Regions from separate parts of the Homo sapiens genome. Here all the other regions are linked to region 5. The links are contacts of gene promoters, found by promoter capture Hi-C in blood cells and fetal thymus (Javierre and others, 2016). All regions are on one chromosome and are shown on one strand. Each heading gives the region's core, a stretch centred on a gene start or on the middle of the fragment in contact. The rest is flanking DNA. Distances are from core to core; before and after follow the strand shown.

Region 1 (2,700 bases), core at 178-2,677, 290 kb before region 5:
AGCATTTTGCTGGTTGACTTCCTGGAGGGCCAAAGAGTGATAAGATCTGATTATTATGAGAGTGTTTTGAGAAAGTTACCAAAGCTTCAGCAGAAAAAATGCCTGGGAAAACTTCCCCAGAATCCTTCCTGACCACGACAATGCTCCCGCTCATTCCTCTCATGAAGCAAGGGCAATTTGGTGAGAGTTTTCTTGGGTAATCATTAAGTGCCCACCTTTCAGTGCTGATTTGGCTTCTTCTGACTTGTTTTTGTTCCTAATCTTACAACTTTAAAGGGCACCCATTTTTTCTTCAGTAACCAATATAAAAAATACTGCATTGACATGGCTAAATTCCCAGGACTCTCAGTTCTTTAGGGGTGAACTAAATGGCTAGTATCATTGCTTACAAAAGTGCCTTGAACTTGATGGAGCTCATGTTGAAAAATAAAGCTTATATTTTTATTTTTATCTTTTAATTAAATTTCTTCATAAACATTTAGAGTCCCTTCATATATCCCCTAAACTTTTTACAAATTTAGGCTAAAACACTTAAAAAAAAAACTACTAGAAAAATGAAAATAAGACATGAACAGACAATTCAAAAAAATATATAGGGTCATTTGTGGTGGTTCATGGCTGTAATCTTAGCACTTTGGGAGGCTGAGGTGGGAGGATCACTTGAAGCCAGTAGTTCAAGACAAGCCTGGGCAACATAGTGAGACCTCACATCTCTACAAAAAAATAAAAAAATTAGCTGGACATGGTGGCATCCATCTGTAGTCCTAGCTACTTGGGAGGCTAAGGTAGGAGGATTGCTTGAGCCCAGGAGTGCGAGGCTACAGTGAGCTATGACTGCATCACTGCAATTTGGCCTGGGCAACAGAACAAGATTCCTGTCTCTAAAAAAACAAAAAGATATAAACTGGCTTTTAAACATATGAAAAACTATTTAACCTCATTCATAATAAGAGAAATTTTAATTAAAATTATTTGGAGATATCTTTTTACCCATCAGGTTGGCAACAATTAAAAAGCTTGACAATATACTCTGCAAAGGAGACTATGGGACAATGGACATTCTCATCTATTTGTAGGAATGCAAGATGGGGAATAGCTATATTTAACAAAACTACATATGCCTTTACCTTATGATGCAGCAATCACACTATTAGGAATTTATTATACGTACATACTTCAAAAATAACAACAACAACAACAAACATATATATCTATATATATAGATATATATATATCTCAGGTTCTTCATTAGCATTTTTTATATTGCAAAAATATTGGATGGAAACTACCTAAATGACAAGTCATAGATGGGTTGAACAGATAATGATATGTGCACATACAATGGAGTTTTTTTTTTTGCTTTTTTTTTTTTTTAGACGGAGTCTCGCTCTGTAGCCCAGGCTGGAGTGCAGTGGCGCAATCTCAGCTCACTGCAATCTCCGCCTCCTGAAATCAAGCAATTCTCCTGCCTCAGCCTTCCAAGTAGCTGGGACTACAGGCGCCCACCACCACACCCAGCTAATTTTTGTATTTTTAGTAGAGACGGAGTTTCACCATGTTGGCCAGGCTGGCCTTGAACTCCTGACCTCAGGTGATCCACCCGCCTTGGCCTCCCAAAGTGTGGGATTACAAGCATGAGCCACTGCACCTGGTTTTTACAATGGAGTTTTATGAAGCTATTTTAAAAATGAAGATTTCTATAAATTTATATAGAATGATTTCCAGGATATATTATTAGTACAAAAAGCAAGGTGAAAACTTTTCCTTTCAGTCATGTGAAACCAGATATACCACTATAACAACTGGGAAGTGGATCAAAATGTGTGATAAAAGCTTTTAGACATTTGTTCAAAAGACAGTGCAGGATTCTAACCCATAAGAGAAGAGAAGCAGGCCGGGCGCGGTGGCTCATGCCTGTAATCCCAGCACTTTTGGAGGCCGAGGTGAGCAGATCACGAGGTCATCCAGACCATCCTGGCTAACACGGTGAAACCCCGTCTCTACTAAACAAAATACAAAAAATTAGCCGGGCATGGTGGCAGGCACCTGTAGTCCCAGCTACTCGGGAGGCTGAGGCAGGAGAATGGCATGAACCCGGGAGCCGGAGTTTCTAGTAAGCCGAGATCACGCCACGTCACTCCAGCCTGGGTGACAGAGCGAGACTCCATCTCAAAAAAAAAAAAAAAAAAAAAAAAAAAAGGAGAAGGAAATGAGGATCCGCAAACTAGGATCTCCATTTTTTTTGCCTGGAGACAACTTTCAGACTGTGGGGCAGGAAAGGGGAAATCCAAGAATAACACCATGGTTTTGCTGAGTTGAGGAATAGATATTAGAGTTTGGGGAGATTAGGAGATTGAGGCAGCCAGAATTTATGGGATAGAGTACTAAAGAGAATGGAGCTACACAAAGAACTCCAGGAATATTAATATGGATCCCCAAGTCTTTGGCTAAATAATAATCTGAGCATACATAGAGTGCACTGACACTTTTCTGCAGCTGGGCGAAGAACTGCCAGGGAGCTATTAGCTGAATTCTTGATGGTCACATAGGGCTGGAAAATGTTTGAATTTCATTTAGCCATAATAAAGAGACCCTGCTGAACACTCAGATTAATCAAAAAAGTCAGAATTAAGTGGTAGGTCTAAATTAGCCCAAGGCAAAAGTTACTACAGACCTGTCCTAACAAAGCTTAAAAACAAG
Region 2 (2,700 bases), core at 57-2,556, 270 kb before region 5:
GATCCTCCTCCCTCCTTCCCTCTTTCCCTGATAAAGGTATAGATGCAATGCCATCCCATTCAAAAATCCTACAAGCTTTGTCCTGTAGTAAGACTTTGTAGCAAGACTTACTATAAAGCTACAATAATTGAGACAGTGTGCTATTAGTAAAAGAATAGACAAATGAAACATGATCAAGAATATAGAAATAGAACTACATATATCAGTGAAATGACTTTCAACAAAGGCACCAAGCAAATTCAACAGAAAGAGGAAAATATTTTTAATAAATGGTATTGAAAAAAATGGGAAATAACTTCAACCCCTACCTCAATGAACTGGTGCATCATGCCACATGCAAAAATCAATTTTAAATAAGGTAAGTAGAAAGGAAGAGTCAAAAGTGTCAAATAAGTGCCTTTTGCTCACTAGACACAGTCACTGTCTCACCTACTATACTGCTAGAGCAAAGTATTACACAATATAAATCCAGTACGCGACCGGGCGCAGTGACTCATGCCTGTAATCCCAGCACTTTGGGAGGCCAAGGAGGGAAGATCACCTGAGGTTGGGAGTTCAAGACTAGCCTGACCAACATGGAGAAACCCCGTCTCTACTAAAAATACAAAATTAGCTGGGCGTGGTGGCACATGCCTGTAATCCTAGCTACTAGGGAGGCTGAGGCAGGAGAATCACTTGAACCTGGGAGGCGGAGGTTGCAGTGAGCCGAGAGCATGCCATTGCACTCCAGCCTGGGCAACAAGAGTGAAACTCCATCTCAAAAAAAAAAAAAAAAAAAAAAAAAAAAAAAAAAAATCCAGTACACACAAGTGACACATATCTGTTGAGATACTTCACTTTTCTTGGTTTCCAATCCTTAGCAGACTTTTCAGGTGAGCATCAGAATCTAGATTGAAGATGCCAAATTATCTGATTTACTGAATTCCTTTTAGAAGCCAATACCCAGGTAGCATTTAAAATAAAATTAACATAGCTTAGATGGACCACAGAATACATACCAATAAGGAAACCTGCTGTGAGTAGTCAGACACACTTTTATGAATTTTCCTACTAATATTCCTTTTCTCTTGACTTATCAGTAATTTTTTCAGTTTTCAGACTTTCCATATTACCCATTTTACCTAATTATGTTTTCCAAAGGTAACTGTTTCCTTTTCATTTTTTTTGTCTTTTTGGTAATATTGTATATTGTAAGCTTCCAATTCACTGATAGGGAAATGTATGAGGAATTTTATATGCAAATGTTATTCTATAATTTTTGAAGTGTTTGTAAACTACTAGTTCAGTAAAATGCTATGCTAACATTATCTGGATCAATTTTTACAATCACCTGATTATAAGAACATTTCATATACCACATTCTGTTTTAGCTCAAGTCCATTTAAAGCATTTGAATTGGAACAATTTCCCAAGCTTTAAATAAGTCATAAGGAGAGAAGCTCTTTATTTGTTTGTTTGTTTTGGGACAGGGTCTAATTCTGTCACCCAGACTGGAGTACAGGAGCGCAACCACAGCTCACTGCAGCTTCAATCTCCCCAGACTCAGGTGATCCTCACACCTCAGCCTCCCAAGTAGCTGAGACCACAGGCATGGACCACTAAACCTTGTTAATTTTTGTTTTTTTTTTTTGTAGAGATGGGTTTTTGCCATGCTGTCCAGGCTGGTCTCAAACTCCTGGGCTCAAGTGATCCACCCGCCTTGGCGCCCCAAAGTGCTAAGATTATAGATGCGCCTGGCGAGACAAGCTCTTTGTACTATAGAGAATGATGCAGTGGACATGGGTAGGGAAATAAAATGCAGTATAACTTATGATAGTGTTCTTAATCTGGTTTGAAAAGCAAGGTTCAGCTTGAGAAGGAGACTGGAACACTCAGTCATAAGACGCTCTTCAGTGGAACAATAATTTTCAAAGTTTAGGTCTGGCAACTTCCATTAGTCATATTCTTAGATTTACTGAAATTATAGGCTAACTTTATCAGCCAGAATGTCTTTTTGCAGTGAGAGGAAGTTTCTTAAATAGAAAATGAAACAGTTGTGTGCTGAAGGAGAAGTGATAAGCAGGGATTCTGAGTTGTAAATTTACATCTCTCATACTACAATGGCCAAGATTTGTCCCTCCCTTATTTTTGGATCAGTACAATTTGAATATCAAAGTAAAATTATAAAATATAATCAAACACATACAAATATATATAATCAAAACATGCTCCTTACCTACAGGCCCCAAATGCTCTGGCATGTCTGATACTCTTGTCTGCCTGACTACTGTCCCTCAAGCTCACCATGCCAAATATTTCTCATCTTAGGCCTTTGGTCTTGCTGCTAGAAATGCTTTTTACTGAGATCTCTGAAAATATTTAATGCTAGAAGAAAACCTGCTTGTGACTGAACTTAGTTTCATCAAGAATTTTTCACCTTGGAGAGTGGATTCTGCCCAAGCAATTAGAATAATCACAATCATCCCCTTCCCCAAGGGGCTTTCTGCAGTGAAACTGCTATTGAGTCCTGAGGGGTAGGGATTCAAAAAAGAAGTTCACTCAGCCCTGGATTCGTAGGAGAAGCACACACCTGGTAGGAATATGGCATCATAGAGCTACAGTTACCCAGAAACCTGGGGCTTAGCGCGGGATAGACATCCGTGGGAAAGACTCAGACAGGATCATTTTGGGGTCTTCGGCACTTTAAAACCAGCACAAACA
Region 3 (2,700 bases), core at 177-2,676, 290 kb after region 5:
AAGTGGGTAGAATAATTCCTAGAGCTCACAAAGGGCTGGAAATATTTCACATTCCTACCAATCAGAGAAGAGAGACCTCTTAATGCACAGGGCATTAGGTGGTGTCCTCAGGAAAGTATTGCTGTAATAGAAGGCCGAATTAGTGCTACACTAAAAGCTGCTCTGAATGTGTACTAACAAATCTTAAAATGAAGCCTTGAAAGGAATAAATTGGTACTGAGCAACTTAACTTCACGTCAGAACTAAGTCCAAGACTCTTTAAAGCAGAGTTTCTCAACAGTGGAACTACTGACATTTTGAGCTAATTCTTTATTGTTGGGCGGCTGTCCTGTGCACGGTAGGATGTTTGGCAGCAATTGGATGGTGTTTAGCAGCATCTCAGAGCTCCATTATTAGATGCCAGTAGCAATTCCCTAGTTGTAATAACCAAAAATGTATCCAGGCATTGCCAAATTATCTCCTGGGTAGGGGGTAGAGGGGACAAAACTGTTTCTTATCAAGAACTACTGCTTTAAAGGAACACGCACACACATGCACACACACACAAAATCCAGCATCCGACAATGTAAAATTCACAATGTCTAGCATCTTATTAGAGATTACCAGTCATGCAAAACAGCAAGAAAATATATCCATAGAAGAAGATAGATTAAAAGAAGCAAACTAAGGACAAAAATGTTGAAATTAGCAGACAAGAAAGTTAAAACATCTATTATACATGTACTAATATGCTCAAACATATAGATAAAAAGATGACTATTCGGTGGAGACATGTAAAATAAATTTTAAAAGAGACAAAAAGAATCTTATACAGATAAGAAATAAATATGGTCTCTGAAATGAAGAATACACTGTTTAGGATTAACAGATATGATACTACAAAAGGAAAAATTAGTGAACTTGGAAAATATGTCAATAAAAGATATTCAAAATGAGGCACAGAGAAAGAAATGGACAAAAATAAAGAACGCTTCAATGACCTGTGTCATTGTAACATATGTGTTACTGGAGTCTCAGAAAGGATGGAAGGAAAGAAAAAACTATTAGAAGAAGTATGGTTGATTTTTTCCTGAATTTGATGAAAATGATAAATCCACAGATCCAAGAATATCAACAAACCCCAACAGACTAACATAAAGAAAACCATACTAAAGCACATCACAATCAATCTGCAAAAGTCAGGATAAAAAGAAAAGTTTTAACAGTAACCATGAGGGGTGGGGAGAGGAAGACTCATATATAAAAAAGCAAACATCTTATTAGAAACTATGCAAGCCAGAAGACAACTGAATTATATCTTTTAAAAAACTGTCAACTATGCCCAGTGAAAATACTTTTTCAAAAATAAAAATGAGATAAAGAGCCGGGCGCGGTGGCTCACACCTGTAATCCCAGCACTTTGGGAGGCCGAGCCAGGTGGATCACGAGGTCAGGAGTTCGAGACTATCCTGGCTAACAAGATGAAACCCCATCTCTACTAAAAATACAAAAAATTAGCAGGGCGTGGTGGCGGGCGCCGGTAGTCTCAGCTACTCGGGAGGCTGAGGCAGGAGAATGGCGTGAACCCGGGAGGTGGAGCTTGCAGTGAGCCGAGATCACGCCACTGTACTCCAGCCTGGGCGACAGAGTGAGACTCCGTCTCAAAAAAAAAAAAAGAGATAAAGATATTTCTCAGACAAAAGCTGAGTGAATTTGTTGCCAGAACATATGCACTATAAAAAATATTAAAGAAATTTTTCAGGCAGTAGGAAAGTGATACCAACTGGAAATTTGGATTTACAAAATAATAAATTTCGTTGCTAAATGTCTAATGTGTAGAACATGCCTGGCACATAGAGAACACTCAATAAGTATTTATTAAATGCATTTAATTAATGAATGTTCAATATAGGAGTTGGGAAGACCTTTCTTTTTTTTTTTTTTTTTTTTCAAGACGAAGTCTTGCTCTGTCACCCAGAGCTGGAGTACAGTAGCATGATCTCATCTCACTGCAACCTCCACCTCCCGGGTTCAAGCAATTCTCTTGCTTCAGCCTCCCAAGTAGCTGGGATTACAGGCGCGTGCCACCATGCCTCGCTAATTTTTGTATTTTTAGTAGAGACAGGGTTTCACCATGTTGGCCAGGCTGGTCTCGGACTCCTGATCTCCTGATCCGCCCACCTTGGCCTCCCAAAGTGCTGGGATTACAGGCGTGAGCCACCGTGCCCAGCTGGGAAGACCTTTCTAACTGAATATGCAGACCTTAAAATCCATAAAAGGAAAAAGATATATTTTAATTCATACATTTTAAAAACATTTATATATGACAAAATTAGTACAAACAAATGAATAGAAATAATATAGGAGGAAAACATATTTGTGATGCAGATAATAGATAAGCACACCATGGCATGTACACCTATGTAACAAACCTGCACGTTCTGCACATGTATCCCAGAACTTAAAGTGTAATAAAAAATAAATAAATATAAAAATAATTTTAAAAAATTTTATCTATAAATAGAGATACTTTTATTTATTTCTGAAGTAAAAGTAACAAAATTAGAGAAATGGAGAACAGATTACTGCTTGCCAGCATTAGGCAGGGAAGCAGATGTGGCTATAAAAAGGTGATATCAAGAATCTGGTTGTTACGGAACTATGTTACTTCTTTACTGTATCAATGTCAATATCCAGGTTGTGGTATGGCCCTACGCTTTT
Region 4 (2,700 bases), core at 61-2,560, 320 kb before region 5:
CCGCACTGCCTCAGATGTGTGGTCTCCAAAAGAATAGTCTAGTTGGCCGTTGGTGCCCTCGTCTGGATCAGTGGCATTGAGGCGGAGCAGCAGAGTACCAATGGGTGCATTCTCTGGGATTCCCACACGTAGAACTGAGGATTGGAAGGTTGGAGCATTATCATTGATGTCCAGCACGATGACAGAGATAAGGGTGGTCCCTGAGCGGGCTGGGGTCCCCCCATCCACAGCAGTAAGCACCAGCTGATGTCTTGCCTGGGCTTCACGATCCAGCTGCTGCTCTAGCACCAGCTCTGGGAATGGCTTCCCATCTTTTAGGGTCTTCACATTCAGAGAGAAGTGGCTGTTGGGGCTTAGAGTGTAAAAGCTCACAGTATTGGTGCCCACATCCGGATCCTGGGCACTGTCCAGTGGGAATCGTGCCCCAGATGCTGCTGATTCTGAGATGCGCATCTCTCGCTCAGGGGTGGCAAAGCTAGGAGAGTTGTCATTGAGATCCAGGATCTCTACCTCTACACGGATTAGCTCCAGGGGGTGTTCAGTCACCACCTGCACTGGCAGCAGGCAGCTGGTGCTGGCTCCACATAGGCTTTCTCGGTCAATCTTTTGATTCACTGCCAGGGCACCACTCATCAAGCTCAGGGAAAAATAGCGCCCATTCTCCTCAGAGCCCAATTGCAGCCGCCGGCTCAACAGATCTGTCATCTTTAAGCCCAGATCCTGAGCAACATTCCCCACCAGCGTCCCCGGCTCAGACTCCTCCACCACTGAGTAACGAAGCTGCCCAGACACCCAGCCCCAGCAGCACAAGGACAACATGCACAGCACTTGCCATTTCCCAGCGAGCTGTGGGAGTGTCTTGGGCCCCATGACCCAGAAGTCCCTTTGTGGAGAGTAAGTCTGTGCTGTCCTGTCTCCAAGGTAGACCCAGGGCTTGGAATGCAGCAGCTGAAGTCTCTTATGTCTCCTTCCAGCCTCTTAAAAACTGCTCGGAGGTTTGCCTGCTTGCAGCAGTTCTTAGTCACCGAGTGGCGGGGGTGGGCAGGGGGGAGGGGAGCTGAATTTGAGTGGAGCTGGGGAGCTGGAGGAGGAGAGGCGGGCTGGAAGAGCAGATCTCCCACCTCAGCTCTGAGTCTGATTGGCCAAAAAGTCTGTGTGCTCTCAACCAATTATGGAGTTTCCTCAATCCTGGAAACCTTGGGAACACAGGCTGCAAATCTGTGTCACAGAAGCTTCCTACCTCCCCACTCACTTCGTGCTGCAGGTTGATTCAGCCCCCTTGGCAGCAAAGTTTGACAGCTCAGATGGTACTCAACAGGGAAGACAAAGTGATACAAAACTCCTCAGCGTTCTGTCCCAGCAACTTCCTGCATGACTTCAGAAGCTTCCACCACTTTGCTTGAACCAGCAAAATCTTGTCCTTCTGGGAGAGGCAAAGCCCATGTATTCCCCCACCCTCCCCCATCCTGCTGAATGCTGCTAAGGTGAGAGAAAAGATTAGTAAGAACCTTGTAAAGTCTTGCCCTGACTCTCCAGCAATGCTTTGCGGAAATCTCAATGTCAGCTGACATGGGACTTAGCTTTTCTGACACCCCAGACCCCAAATGTGGAATGAGTGTTACAGTTTTTGGGTAGGGGAACATTTCTGGGGCTGAATCAGGTCACCCAGGAGGGTGGTCAGAGGCCAAGCATGGATGGCTTGGCTTCTAGGTTTCATGGTTTCACCAAATTCAGGAGAACTCAACTTAAAGATGCACAGGGTGGCTGTTTCTATGAATCAGCCAACTGTAAACCAGTTTTCTGACATAAGTGATTTCACTTACTGTTTTTTCCAAAGGTGATGACCAACCCGCCCCAACCTTCCAATTTACCGCATCTAGTTCAAATCCCCAGTAGGGACTTGATATGAGTCCTAAGACCCAGACCAAAAGATCTATGCCACCACTCTGATGCGTGCCTCTCTATTCCTTTAGTTCTCTCCTCTTTCTGCTGTCTCTATGTTTCAAATAGAGAGGTCCCTTCACAGTGTACTAGATACTGGGAGACAAAGATTTTATTTCCCCTCAATCCCTTGGGAAATGGTAACCTAGAGTTAAGGTACTTCAGAATCTGATCCCCTCTTTCAGGAAGAGTAGAGAAAACAGCCACCTTTGTCCAAGTGACTGCCTGGTGCACTGTACCCTGTGCACTGTAGCCTCCTGTGCTCCCACATTCCATCATCATGCTTCCACAACAGCCTGGCTCTTGATCACCAATTACTTTCATTTCTTACTCAGATATAGGCATGACCCGCCCCCAATGCTAAACTGTGACAACTCTGGTTAATTCACGAAACAGTTACAAAGCACAGCGTCTACCACATAGTTACCTCTTACAAAAATGGTGACATCACTATGGGCACTTACTGAGAGGCCAGTACTCTCTAGGACATGGCCTAGCCATATGCCTGGATCAGAATAACCCTCAAGCATTTGTTGAGCCTGCAAAGGTCTCACCTCTAGCCCATAGAGAAGATCAGAGGGTGGGCAGCTTGGGCGAACAGGCTCCCCTGCCATAGGTGCACTGGGTGACTTCACCATCATGAAGCTATCACTCCGAGTGGGTGCAGAAGCCAAGGGTGTACAGCCATGAGAGTGGCCTCCCACATCAACAAACTTGATAGGGTCATCTGACCCTAGCTGGATTCGGAGGATCCCATTG
Region 5 (2,700 bases), core at 39-2,538:
CCACGACTGTCTCGGGTGAGTTTTCTGCAATTGGGCTAGTAAGTGAAGACAGGAGCAGCTCGGGTCGATTATCGTTTATATCTGTTACATCAACCACTACAGTGCATTTTCCAGAAAGCCCGCCGCCGTCTTTGGCCTGAATAGTTAATGTGTAAGTTTGAATTGCCTCATAGTCCAATTGCGCTTTAAGATGAAGACTGCCAGATGTTGGATTGATTTGAAACGTTTTGAGAATTCTTTCAGTGGCGTAAGAAAATGCATAGGCTATTTCCCCATTACTTCCGGTATCTAAATCTCTGGCTGACACGGAGACAACCATGGAACCAACGGGGCTATTTTCGGGCACCTGCACCTTGTAGAGCGACCGCACAAAATCAGGGGCGTTGTCATTTACGTCTAGAACCAGAATGCGCACGAGGGCGGTCCCTGATCTTGGAGGAGAGCCGCCGTCTAAAGCGGTGAGGGTTAAACTGAACTCTGGTATCTCTTCCCGATCCAGCACTTGATTCAGCACCAATTCGGGATAGATATTCCCCTCCCCGCTATCATGGACATTAATATGGAAATAGGCATTGGGGCTGATGGTGTAGTTACTCAGGCTGTTGGTTCCAACATCTGAATCCTGTGCACTCTCTAGGAGAAATGCCGCCCCTGGAGTGGTACTTTCTAATATTTTCAAGGAAATCTCTCTGTCTAGAAATACTGGAGCGTGATCATTGATGTCTCTGACCCATAGTTCAGCACGGAAAATCTGAAAAGGTTTTTCCAATAACAACTGGAAAGGCAGCACACAGGGCTCTCTGGGGCCACACAGTTCCTCTCGGTCCAATTTCTCATTTAGAAGTAGATCACCAGTAAGCGAACTGAGCAGTAAAATTTGCATGTTCTGGTCTGAAACAATTCTAGTTCCCCGGGCTCTCAGTTCCCCTACCCCTAACCCTAGGTCTTTTGCCAAGTTGGTAAGAAAGGTGCCTCTCTCGGTTTCCTCCGCCACAAAATACCGAAGCGGTTCGGCGCCAGCCCAAGACATTCCCAGAAATACACAAAGAAATAAGACTTGCCTTTTCTGCACAGCACGCTCCACTCTGGCCTCCATTCTTCTTTGGATCAGTCTTTCAAAATGACTTTCACTCAGCCTCCAGCGGCTCTCACAAATGGCAGCAGCGGAATCCTTTGAAATGAGCTGAATAATAGCAATGTTTGTGGGGAAGGATCCTCATTTTACCCCAATTCCTATTACCACTGTTTCCTTTCCTATGCTTTTCTCTTCAGATTGCCTCTTTGCTCTGGAATCTGTAACATCCTTTCTTTGTGAAATTATTTTTCTCTCTCTCTTTTTAGCCAGCAGCGCCACCTTGCGTTTTGTGGATGTTATTCCCGTTATCAAGACTAGAACAAAAAGATGGCGGATTGAAGGAATTCTGCAACAAGAATGATTTGTCCCCGGTATCTTTGCTGTTTCATTCCATCTTTATCCTCAAATGGTCACAGTAATGCTAGTAAGTAATAGCTGATGTCGTTTTCCCCTGTGATAATCTGGATTCGTAGAAGAATTAATTTATAGTCTTCTTAAATCTAGGAGCATGAAACTAAACTCTGACTCCCCACCGAAATCCTAAGAAAATCTCCTATTTTAAAAATGGATAGTAAAAATATATATGAGAAAATGAAACCTCCTCCTTGAAGTCAACAAATATTGGTTGGGGACATTTTATTTATTTGTAAAGTATTTAACAATAATAATGTGAATATGGCAGAATAATTGACCCTTTTCCCAATTTCTTGTGAATTAAACAATTATTCCACTTTCCAGGTCTTAACTCTTTACCTGTGATATTTCTTGGAACACTTTATGCCTCCCCCAAACCCAACCTTCATCCTTCACCTGATTTAAGTATTACATAAGAAATTATTGTTCCTCTATAATTTCAGTGACTAGAATCTCCAATGTCCAATGAATACTCTTAAAATTAGTAGTAGCAAGTTGGTCAATCTTGCATTTGTGGAAGTGCTTCTAGCATTTCATCTTCAACTATGATGGTTGATCTCAATTTGGGGTAAATATTCCTTTTTTGAATCAATAAAGTTTTCTTTTTATTCTTTCATATTTTGAAGTGATTTTTGATAGCTGTTGAAATAATACATTTATTCTTTAGTTTCTAAATTACTGAGTTATTGATATAAATGACATTTAACCATAATGTATTATTGTTTTAGTGCACAGATAGATATGATGTGTCAACATGGTTTTAGGATTTTTCTAGTTAATGTTGTTTACCTAGTGCGTGTTTGCCTTTTATGGCCTTGGTATTAAACTATTATACTGGCATCATAGAATGTGTTAGGGAGCTTTTTATCTATTTTATACAATAGTTTTAATAATTATATTATTATATGTTTCTACATGCTTAATTCCAGCTTGTCTTTTAAACTGGTTGGGTTTGGTGACTTCACTTGCAGTAGATCAGTGACTACCATTTACATTTTACCTTTGGTTATTAATCTGTTCAGGTTTTGTATTTTTAAGTAACTTGCATTTTATTTTGAAAATCATTTTATCTAGTTTGCAAATTTCTTGGAATTGTTTTCATTGCGTTATTTACCTTTAATTGTATCCCTATTTTTATTAGTGATGTTTAGCATTTTAACTCCTTTTTATTCTTGGTGAGACTTGCAAGAGCTCTACTTTACTGATATTTT

The links. The method cuts DNA at HindIII sites, captures the fragments that hold promoters and counts their contacts. A CHiCAGO score of 5 or more calls a contact.
Region 1: a contact is called between a fragment that was not itself captured here and the fragment with the promoter of PCDHB7 in region 5, in 1 of 17 cell types (erythroblasts). The highest score is 6.8, in erythroblasts.
Region 2: a fragment that was not itself captured here is called in contact with the fragment with the promoter of PCDHB7 in region 5 in 3 of 17 cell types (erythroblasts, fetal thymus and total CD4 T cells); the score reaches 6.1 in erythroblasts.
Region 3: a fragment that was not itself captured here is called in contact with the fragment with the promoter of PCDHB7 in region 5 in 4 of 17 cell types (monocytes, M1 macrophages, M0 macrophages and 1 more); the score reaches 8.1 in monocytes.
Region 4: a contact is called between a fragment that was not itself captured here and the fragment with the promoter of PCDHB7 in region 5, in 5 of 17 cell types (non-activated CD4 T cells, naive CD4 T cells, naive CD8 T cells and 2 more). The highest score is 6.5, in non-activated CD4 T cells.

The regions. Positions count from the first base shown.
Region 1 is chr5:141,462,938-141,465,637 of GRCh38, reverse strand. All of the region lies in intron 1 of PCDHGA1 (protocadherin gamma subfamily A, 1), which reads right to left. All of the region lies in intron 1 of PCDHGA2 (protocadherin gamma subfamily A, 2), which reads right to left. The region is part of intron 1 of PCDHGA3 (protocadherin gamma subfamily A, 3); the gene reads right to left. The region is part of intron 1 of PCDHGB1 (protocadherin gamma subfamily B, 1); the gene reads right to left. It also overlaps PCDHGA4, PCDHGB2, PCDHGA5, PCDHGB3, PCDHGA6 and PCDHGA7, and 10 more genes. Among named protein-coding and RNA genes, the nearest start is that of PCDHGC3, 12 kb to the left of the region's middle. The HindIII fragment of the contact is 817 bases long and covers 1,019-1,835 here.
Region 2 is chr5:141,442,248-141,444,947 of GRCh38, reverse strand. The region is part of intron 1 of PCDHGA1 (protocadherin gamma subfamily A, 1); the gene reads right to left. The region is part of intron 1 of PCDHGA2 (protocadherin gamma subfamily A, 2); the gene reads right to left. All of the region lies in intron 1 of PCDHGA3 (protocadherin gamma subfamily A, 3), which reads right to left. All of the region lies in intron 1 of PCDHGB1 (protocadherin gamma subfamily B, 1), which reads right to left. It also overlaps PCDHGA4, PCDHGB2, PCDHGA5, PCDHGB3, PCDHGA6 and PCDHGA7, and 11 more genes. Among named protein-coding and RNA genes, the nearest start is that of PCDHGA12, 13 kb to the right of the region's middle. RefSeq lists an enhancer at 2,522-2,700. The HindIII fragment of the contact is 218 bases long and covers 1,198-1,415 here.
Region 3 is chr5:140,886,057-140,888,756 of GRCh38, reverse strand. The region is part of intron 1 of PCDHA1 (protocadherin alpha 1); the gene reads right to left. All of the region lies in intron 1 of PCDHA2 (protocadherin alpha 2), which reads right to left. All of the region lies in intron 1 of PCDHA3 (protocadherin alpha 3), which reads right to left. All of the region lies in intron 1 of PCDHA4 (protocadherin alpha 4), which reads right to left. It also overlaps PCDHA5, PCDHA6, PCDHA7, PCDHA8, PCDHA9 and PCDHA10, and 4 more genes. Among named protein-coding and RNA genes, the nearest start is that of PCDHA13, 5.3 kb to the right of the region's middle. The HindIII fragment of the contact is 5,330 bases long and covers 1-2,700 here.
Region 4 is chr5:141,487,411-141,490,110 of GRCh38, reverse strand. All of the region lies in intron 1 of PCDHGA1 (protocadherin gamma subfamily A, 1), which reads right to left. The region is part of intron 1 of PCDHGA2 (protocadherin gamma subfamily A, 2); the gene reads right to left. The region is part of intron 1 of PCDHGA3 (protocadherin gamma subfamily A, 3); the gene reads right to left. All of the region lies in intron 1 of PCDHGB1 (protocadherin gamma subfamily B, 1), which reads right to left. It also overlaps PCDHGA4, PCDHGB2, PCDHGA5, PCDHGB3, PCDHGA6 and PCDHGA7, and 13 more genes. The HindIII fragment of the contact is 152 bases long and covers 1,235-1,386 here.
Region 5 is chr5:141,171,232-141,173,931 of GRCh38, reverse strand. It overlaps PCDHB7 (protocadherin beta 7), which reads right to left and starts at 1,288. Exons shown (of 1, transcript NM_018940.4): 1 at 1-1,288. The coding sequence starts at 1,096. It also overlaps PCDHB@. The HindIII fragment of the contact is 10,030 bases long and covers 1-2,700 here.